3 separate regions of the Homo sapiens genome follow, and regions 1 and 3 are each linked to region 2. The links are contacts of gene promoters, found by promoter capture Hi-C in blood cells and fetal thymus (Javierre and others, 2016). All regions are on one chromosome and are shown on one strand. The core of a region is centred on a gene start or on the middle of the fragment in contact, and the rest is flanking DNA. Distances in the headings are between cores, read along the strand shown. Region 1 has its middle 67 kb from the start of LINC00895. Region 2 holds the start of HIRA (histone cell cycle regulator). Region 3 overlaps CLTCL1 (clathrin heavy chain like 1).

Region 1 (2,704 bases), core at 27-2,526, 200 kb after region 2:
CAGGCCCCACAGCAGGGTCTAGAGATGAATGTTTACAGCTGAAGCCCCAGTTGGCGTATGCTACTGTTTGTTCTTTTAGTTTTGCTGTCTATAGGCGGCTTGTGTTAACCAGCTCAATTAGACCCTCTACTTGTCGCGTGGACAGAGGGCTTTCTGTATCCCGGGTTCTTGCCTTGGTGTACCGGAAGAGTCGGATCACACATGAGCTTGGATAATGGGTGCAAGGTTTTATTGAGTGGAAGTAGCTCTCAGCAGATGGGGGAACCAGAAGACAGATGGTTTTCCCCTGGAGTGGGGCAGCTGGGTGGCCCAGACACTCTTCCGACTCCCGGCCAAACTCCACGTCATTCCGCGATCAGTGGCATGCCTGTGCCTGTGGGCGCATTCCTCTCGCCAGCCGGCCACTTGTGGATTCCTCCGCCAGTGTGCTCCTCTCCACGTCCAGCCGCTCCTGTCTCTGCCTTGCTAGGGTCTGGGTTTTTATAGGCGCCCGATGGGGCGTGGCAGCAAGAGCGGTCTTGGAAAATGTAAGGCAGGAAATGCCTGTCCTCACTTAGGTCCGTGGGGGTGGAGCCTTAGTAAGAAACGGTCTTTGCTTTGGGAGGCCAAAGTGGGAGGATCACTTGAGCCCAGGAGTTTGAGACTAGCCTGGACAACACAATAAGATCCTGTTTCTACCAAAAAAATTAACCAGGTGTGGTGTTGTGTACCTGTAGTCACAGCTACTGAGAAGGCTGAGGTAGCAGGGTCAGAAAACGCCCTCCTATACCCGCACTTCCCTTGGCACTTCCCTTACCCCCTTCCGTATCATTTAAAGGGACCATGCTTCTCCCTTCTCAGCATTTCCGTATCAGTTTCAGAGCAGTGGATCTGCCATGGTGGCAGGGATTCCCCAGGATTCTGCCTAAGCGGGGTCTGAGACTAACTGGGTTCTAGGCCCCGAACCCCCTCCACTCCCAGGCTCCAGTGACCTGGGGTCAGCATGAGGCTTGGGAAGGAGTGGCTGTGTTCCATGGCACAGGTCTGCCCTTACATTGGTGGTCTTTGGGCTGCACCAGGCAATTGGTGACGGTGCTGCACAGGGCCATGAATCTCCTCATTGTCCAGTAGCCCAAGTAGGTTACGACAGCCCTCCGTCTCTGGAGAGCTGAGTCCTGACATCTCGACCCCCGGGACAGAGGGAGAGGACGATGGCAATAATGTTGCCCCTGTGGCCCACCAGGCCCGCACCTTGGCAACACACACCAGAAGTCATGGCAAGTGTTCTTATAAGAAGAAGAGATTAGGCCTATAATCCCAGTGCTTTGGGAGGCCAAAATGGGAGGATCGCTTGAGCCCAGGAGTTTGAGACTAGCCTGAACAGCAGAGTGAGATCCCATTTCTACCAAAAAAAAGTTAGCCAGGTGTGGTCTTGTATATCTGTAGTCACAGCTACTCAGAAGGCTGAGGTAGCAGGGTCACTTGAGCCCAGGAATTCAAGACCAGCCTGGGCAATATAGCAAGACCCTGTCTCTACAAAAAATTCAAAAATTAGCCTGGGACTATGCCTGTAGTCCCAGCTACTTGGGAGGCAGAGGTGGGAGGATCATTTGAGCCCTGCAGTGAGCTACGATCATGCGACTGTGCTGCAGCCTGGATGACAGAGCAAAACCCTGTCTCAAAGAAGGAGAAGAAGAGATTAGGACCCAGACAGGCACAGAGGAAAAGGAAAGACCCCGTGAGAACGCAGGGAGAGAACGGCCATTGACAAGCCAGGGAGAGAGGCCTGAGAAGGACCAACCCTTCCAGCCTCCAGGACTGCAAGGAGTAGGTGTCTGTTGTTTAAGGCGCCCAGCCTGTGGTACTTCATCATGGCAGCCCCAGCAGACTAACACACACGGATTCTGTCCTTCAGGAGCCAGTATTTGTAGATAAATCATGACTGAATGGCAGTGGTGAGCAAAACTTAATGGCCCTTGCCAGCTTCCAAACGCCCAGCGCTTTCTGCGTGCACCCTCAGGCAGTGGCATCGGGCACACAACCATTCCTAGCTCAGGAAACCAAGGGGAAGAGGTTCCGCTGCAGGCCCGGGAGCCCAGCCGATCCCAAAGACTAAAGACCTAAGCCCCGGGCTTCCCAGAGGAGGGGCACAGCCTTTTGAAAGCAAGAGGAACTTCTGACAAGGTGAGCAGGGTGAGGAAGTTATTGATTTTGATTTTGATTTCCCCTGAATTCTCTATAAAAATAGAGGGGGCAACCAGAACCCAGGTAGTGAAACCAAAGCCCATGTTGGAATTTACAACCTAGTGAGGGGAGGCCGCGGCCTCGGGGCGAATCCATGAGGGGTTGGCATGTGTGGTGGGGGGAGTGCTGGGGGAGACTGGGGGACATGGCAGCGGGATGGGGAGGGGAAGATAACACCAAGCAGAGGAGAACGAGGACGCAAGGAGAAGGAGACGGCGGACTGCAGAACGAGCAGAGGAGCGCAACAGATGCTGGCAGGCCGCAGAGAAGGGGCACCCTCCTTTAAGTTTAAGGACGCAAATTTCAAGGTCAAATCCTATGCAAAGGATTATAAGTGTATTACAAGAAAAAAGAAAATAGGACGAATAATGTAAAATGGATGAAAACTATGCCCTAATCATCATGTCCAAACAAACTTTAAACAAGAAACTGATACAAGATACGTGACAACATACATACATTTCTCTGAACTTAAAACTTT
Region 2 (2,890 bases), core at 338-2,837:
AGTAGGGCATACAGAAGGGACTGAGGCAGTCCCTACCCTGGGGGCATATGGAAAGTACCCTCACACCTTCCATGCCAGGCAAAACACACAGACAGTGATACAGCACATCTACCGGGGTAACTCAGGATGAACAGTTTCAAAAGAAACACGTGAACCTAGTCCCTGAAAAATGGGAAAGATGTCACACAAGATGGAAGGAGAGAGAGGTGGCAGGAGGAGAACACACACATGATCAGTTCAGTTTAGTTGTGGTAGTAGAGAGCATCCTGGGACCAAATTCAAAACGAAAAAGCCACATGTTAAAATATCTATTCTCGCTCCTAAAGAAAACGGTAGCACCCTGTAGTCGCACTGCAAAGTAGAAATGAGGAACAAGACAGCATCAGGGTGACCCTTTGCCTGTCAACAGTCAGACAGGCCAGAATCAGGCCCTGGGCTGGAGGAGTCTCCCTGGGTTGATTTCTGTGCTACAGTGCTGTCAGCAGAGTGGGGTGGGGGAGGGGGAGGCGCGCTTTTTTCATCTACCCGGGGAGCAAACACCAACTCCTGCAGCAGTTCTGCCAACAAGGCAGAACTATGACGAAACTGATTACCACTAGCCTCTCTGTATCAGAGTCAAGATATGGGGTGGATGAGTCCGTTCCCCAAGGGTGTGCTTTGGAGCCACTGCCACAGAGCTAAGAAGCCCCTCTGCTAGAACACACCTGTGCCCTATCTGCCCAACCCTAGTTCACCCTGATGTCCCAGCTCAGCATTAATCGTGGATCCTTCGCGGGGGCCCGGGGCCCCCAAACCCTCCTATTTAGGGACCACAATTCCCCAACTGGGGGCACTGTCCCCAGATCCAGAGGGGCAGTAACAGTCCCTCTTGCAGATTTCGGATCTTCATCCTGCCACTGAAAGGCCACAAGGGGGATTTCATCCCGGTTTCACCTTCAGGACCGTCTGAGCACTTCTCGGGCGATGCAGACCAGTGGAAGGCACTGGCTGGCACCAAGGCCCGCTCCTGGGAGCCAGGCCGCGGCCCCTCCAAGGACCACAGGTGGGCAGCGGAAGACTCAGAGCAAGAGCCAGGGGCGAAGATGGCCCTCGCTGCGGTCAACCCGGAGCACGTGCTGGGGCTCACCAGCCTCTCCGCGCTGAGGACAAAGTCCGCTCCCGCCGGCTTCTTGGCTTGGGCACCGGGTACCGGGCGTCAGGGGCGAGACAGGCAGGACTTGCGCGCGCCCCGACTCGACTCCAGACCCCGACCCGACTCCGGGCTCGGCCTCCCGCGACCCCTGCGCGCACTCACCATTGTGGTTGACCCAGGTCGGCTTCAGGAGCTTCATTGTTCGGCCGCCGCCGCCGCCGGGCTGAGGCGAGCGCCGGGTCCCTCAGCGCGCCCGGGCCATGGAGCCACCGCCGCCGCTTCCTCCCGCGCCACCCGCCCTCCGGCCGCCGCCCGCCCCGCGCCCTCAGGGCCGCCGCGCCATCGCCGGCCCGCGCCCCCCTCCGCCGCCACAGCCGCCACCCGCGCTCGGCCGCCGCCGCCGCCACCACAGCCGCATCCCCTGCGCCGCTCCTCCTCAGGCGGCTCCCGGGCAACGCCGGAAGTCACGGCGCGCACCTGCCAAATCGCCCCGGCGGGAAACCGCTCCCCACGCGGACTGGGCCGCCCCGGCTCCTCCGCTGGCAGGGGCTTCGGGTCGGGCCCGGGCGCGGGCGCCCCAGAAAGGGCGGTTCGCCTGGACGGCGGACAGCGAGCGGGGCCTGCAGTTGCAACCCGGGCCGCCCGCAGAGGCAGGCGGGGCCCAGGTGGCGTGGACCGCCCGTCACCAGCTCTGCCTCGCCAGTCTGAGTCCGACTTATTAACTAGCTTCCGTCATTCATCAACACGCGCTATTGGGCATCTTGCGAGCGCCGGGCTCCGCGCCGGCGCCGGAATGCGATCCGGGCTTCGGACTCGAACGAATGCGGGGGACGAGCCAACCCTGGTGGGGGAGGCTGGGGCGGACGCGTTTATTAGAAGATCGGGGCCGTTTGCCTAGACATGAACATTTGGACTCGGAGGAGCAGAGGGACGCCCCCTCGGCCGCTCCGGCTGCACTGCGGAGCCGAGGCCCGCGCGAGGGCGCAGACCGACCAACCGGCTAGGGCCTGACTGGCTAGACTGTGCCCGCTGCAGAGGCGCGCTCCCAGCACAGGGCGGGGACGGAAGGGAGGACCCCGAGCCGCGTGAAACGCAAGGCCCTCGTGTGTGCGCAGCTGACACCCTAGGCGGGGCTGCGTCGGGGGCGGGGACAGGCGCGTCCCAGCCCACGCAGCCGGAACGCCTGAGCGCTGGGCGCCTGGTCTGCCGGACCTCAGCAGGGGGCACCGCGGGCCGGACTGTGGAGGGGCGCACGCCCGGAAGCGGCGAGGGTAGCCATGACGGCCTCCGTGCTGCGAAGTATCTCGCTAGCCCTGCGCCCGACTAGCGGGTGAGTGCGGACGCTGGCCGGATAGCGGAGTGCCCAGGGCGCGTGCGGGGTCTTCGCGACTGTCCGCCAGGACTCGCCTGTGCTCCCTGCTCGCCTCCCAGTCCACGAATATCTCAGGGATGAGCCATCTGGTCGTGACTCTTATGCATGAAAATCTGAGCACCCTGGCGAGCAGCGGTCCTGCTTAAGTCCTCTGTGGTCTGAACGAAAGATTTTGAAAAACCTTCCACGTTGACCTTGCTGTCATATCAAGTAGTTAGAAGTGCCCCGGGTTTGGGAGCATTGCAATTTTTTATTTTCCTGTGAAGTGGGAGAGAATCAGATATTTATTTATTTATTTGAGACAGAGTCTCGCTCTGTCGCCCAGGCTGGAGTGCAGTGGCGCGATTTCGGCTCACTGCAACCTCTGCCTCCCGGGTTCAAGCAGT
Region 3 (2,888 bases), core at 165-2,664, 150 kb before region 2:
CATATTTTCAGTAGAGACGGGGTTTCACCACATTGGCCAGACTGGTCTCAAACTCCTGACTTCAAGTGATCCACCCGCCTCGGCCTCCCAAAGTGCTGGGATTATAGGCGTGAGCCACAGGGCCTGGCCCAGGTTTGTTTTTTTTTTCACTAGTTAGTAGAAATAACCAAGGATTCCTGATCCCTAGTATATTATTCTGATAGGTAACCTAGCTACACATTTTTAAAAAAATTTTCTTTCTTTTTTTCTTTCTTTTGAGACAGAGTCTTGCTCTGTCGCCAAGGCTGGAGTGCAGTGGTGCAATCTTGGCTTACTGCAAAGTCTGCCTCCCACACTCAACCGATTCTCATGCCTCAGCCTCCCAAGTAGCTGGGAATACAGGTGTCCGCCACTGCACCTGGCTAATTTTTGTATTTTTAGTAGAGACAGGGTTTTGCCATGTTGGCCAGGCTGGTCTTGAACTCCTGGTCTCAAGTGATCCACTTTCCTCGGCCTCCCAAAGTGCTGAGATTACAGGCATGCACCACTGCACTGGACCTTAGCTACACATTTTAAATGGCATATATAAGATTTAACTAAAGAAAGGTAAAGAAGATGCTGTCTAATGATCCTTTTCAGTTCTCAAAGCCTGCAATTAAATCAATCAAAATTCAAATCTGACAATGGGGGCCAGACATGGTGGCTCATGCCTGTAATCCCAGCACTTTGGGAGGCCGAGGCGGGTAGATCACTGGAGGTCAGGAATTCGAGACCAGCCTGGTCAACATGGTGAAGCCCTGTCTCTAGTAAAAATAAAAAACTTAGCTGAGCATGGTGGCACACGCCTGTGGTCCCAGCTACTCAGGAGGCTGAGGAACAAGAATCGCTTGAAACCAGGAGGCAGAGGCTGGAATGAGCCAAGATTGTGCCACTGCACTCCAGCCTGGGTGACAGAGACAGACCCTGTCTCAAAAAAAAAAAAAAAAAAAAATCTGACACTGGGGAATATGCAAAAAGAAATTACTCATCTGATAGTCCTGTGGTTTCTATGTATAAGGGGCTTAAGGAAGATGTCTGCCTGGGAGGACTACAACTGTGTTTGTACAAGAGTATTAGTGAGAACATCAACTGCCTACATCAGTGAAGCCAGAATGCTTAAGTTGCACTGAACATCCCCATGTTTTCACACCTATGTGGACACCAATATTTTTTCTTTCTGTATCTGTCTCCTTCCCAGTCTCACTCACTGCTTTATCCTTGTGCCTAGCATATGGATGGTAAACAAATAGTAAAACAAATTACTTGTTTCAGGGCAGTAAAATTTAGTTCATCTACAGTTTTTAAAACATACTTTGAGGGCCTGGCGTGGCTGCTCACGCCTGTAATACCAGCACTTTGGGAGGCCGAGGCGGGTGGATCACCTGAGGTCAGGAGTTGGAGACCAGCCTGGCCAACATAATGAAACCCCATCTCTATAAAAATACAAAAATCAGCTGGGTGTGGTGGCGGGCACCTATAATCCCAGCTACCTGGGAGGCTGAAACAGGAGAATCACTTGAACACGGGAAGCGGAGGCTGCAGTGAGCCAAGACCACGCCATTGCATTCCAGCCTGGGCAACAAGAGTGAAACTCTGTTTCAAAAAAATAAATGGGCTGGGTGCAGTGGCTCACACCTGTAATCCCAGCACTTTGGGAGGCTGAGGTGGGCGGATCACGAGGTCAAGAGATTAAGACCATCCTGGCCAACATGGTGAAACCCCATCTCTACTAAAAATACAAAAATTAGCCAGGCATGGTGGCACGCACCTGTAGTCCGAGCTACTCAGGAGGCTGAAGCCAGGAGAATCGCTTGAACCGGGGAGGCAGAGGCTGCAGTGAGCTGAGATCATGCCACTGCACTCCAGCCTGGTGGACAGAGCGAGACTCTGTCTCAAGAAAATAAAATAAAAAACACATTTTATATTTGAAACACGCTGGGCGCGGTGGCTCACGCCTGTAATCCCAGCACTTTGGGAGGCCGAGGCAGGCGGATCACAAGGTCAGGAGATCGAGACCATCCTTGCTAACACGGTGAAACCCTGTCTCTACTAAAAATATAAAAAATTAGCTGGACGTGGTGGTGGGTGCCTGTAGTCCCAGCTACTCGGGAGGCTGAGGCAGGAGAATGGCGTGAACCCTGGAGGCAGAGGTTGCAGTGAGCCGAGATTGTGCCACTGCACTCCAGCCTGGGCAACAGAACAAGACTCCATCTTAAAAAAAAGAAAAAGAAAAAGAAAAAGAAACTTACCAAAGAGCCTTTCCTAGCCTAAAGAGGGAGCTCTGTAAATGAGGGCCTATGAAGAATGTTGACACTAAGGTCTCTTCCAGAACTTACATTCCAGGAGTAGGTTAGTTCAGGGATAGTTAACTACATTTATATAATGCTTTACAGAACTTCTCTCAAATTACACTATTACAGGTTTTCTTTATTTTAACACCAGTGCACAAGACTCTATATTTATCCCAGTTAAATGTCAACTAGCTGGATTCTGGCCTGTCAAGATATATCCGATTCTAATTTCATCACTGAACTTTGCTATCCCAGCTTTGTGGCATCCTTCTTCAGCCTGCCAAGAGTGATGGTCATCTCTCTGGCATGGAGGCCAGCAGCAGGCCTCAAGAGAAGTGGAAGAAAATGTGGGAGAAGAGCCTGCAAACTCAGTAAAGTCTCAGTGAAGAAGCAAAGGAAGGAAAAATCAGACAGATTGCAGAAAGATTCCCCCTTAGAGAAGGGGGTGACAGGGTGCCAGCAACTACTACCCTAGGGAATACTGATAAACAACATGTCAGATAGATGCAGTGATCTGTCTGTGATCCTATGGGAGGATCTTCAGTGTGTTAAGTTACAAAAGCAAAGGGCAGAAGCATA

Evidence for each region. Contacts are between HindIII fragments. The CHiCAGO score rates a contact against its expected background, and 5 or more counts as called.
Region 1: a contact is called between a fragment that was not itself captured here and the fragment with the promoter of HIRA in region 2, in 2 of 17 cell types (naive CD4 T cells and total CD4 T cells). The highest score is 7.3, in naive CD4 T cells.
Region 3: a contact is called between a fragment that was not itself captured here and the fragment with the promoter of HIRA in region 2, in 1 of 17 cell types (total B cells). The highest score is 5.9, in total B cells.

What each region holds. Positions count from the first base shown.
Region 1 is chr22:19,632,414-19,635,117 of GRCh38, forward strand. No RefSeq gene overlaps it. Among named protein-coding and RNA genes, the nearest start is that of LINC00895, 67 kb to the left of the region's middle. The HindIII fragment of the contact is 5,938 bases long and covers 1-2,704 here.
Region 2 is chr22:19,430,146-19,433,035 of GRCh38, forward strand. HIRA (histone cell cycle regulator) reads right to left here and starts at 1,588. Exons shown (of 25, transcript NM_003325.4): 1 at 1,295-1,588. The coding sequence starts at 1,331. MRPL40 (mitochondrial ribosomal protein L40) reads left to right here and starts at 2,400. Exons shown (of 4, transcript NM_003776.4): 1 at 2,400-2,462. The coding sequence starts at 2,410. RefSeq lists enhancers at 55-184, 425-494, 443-1,190 and silencers at 1,475-1,874, 2,165-2,474. The HindIII fragment of the contact is 6,181 bases long and covers 1-2,890 here.
Region 3 is chr22:19,283,043-19,285,930 of GRCh38, forward strand. All of the region lies in intron 1 of CLTCL1 (clathrin heavy chain like 1), which reads right to left. Among named protein-coding and RNA genes, the nearest start is that of CLTCL1, 7.2 kb to the right of the region's middle. The HindIII fragment of the contact is 8,535 bases long and covers 1-2,888 here.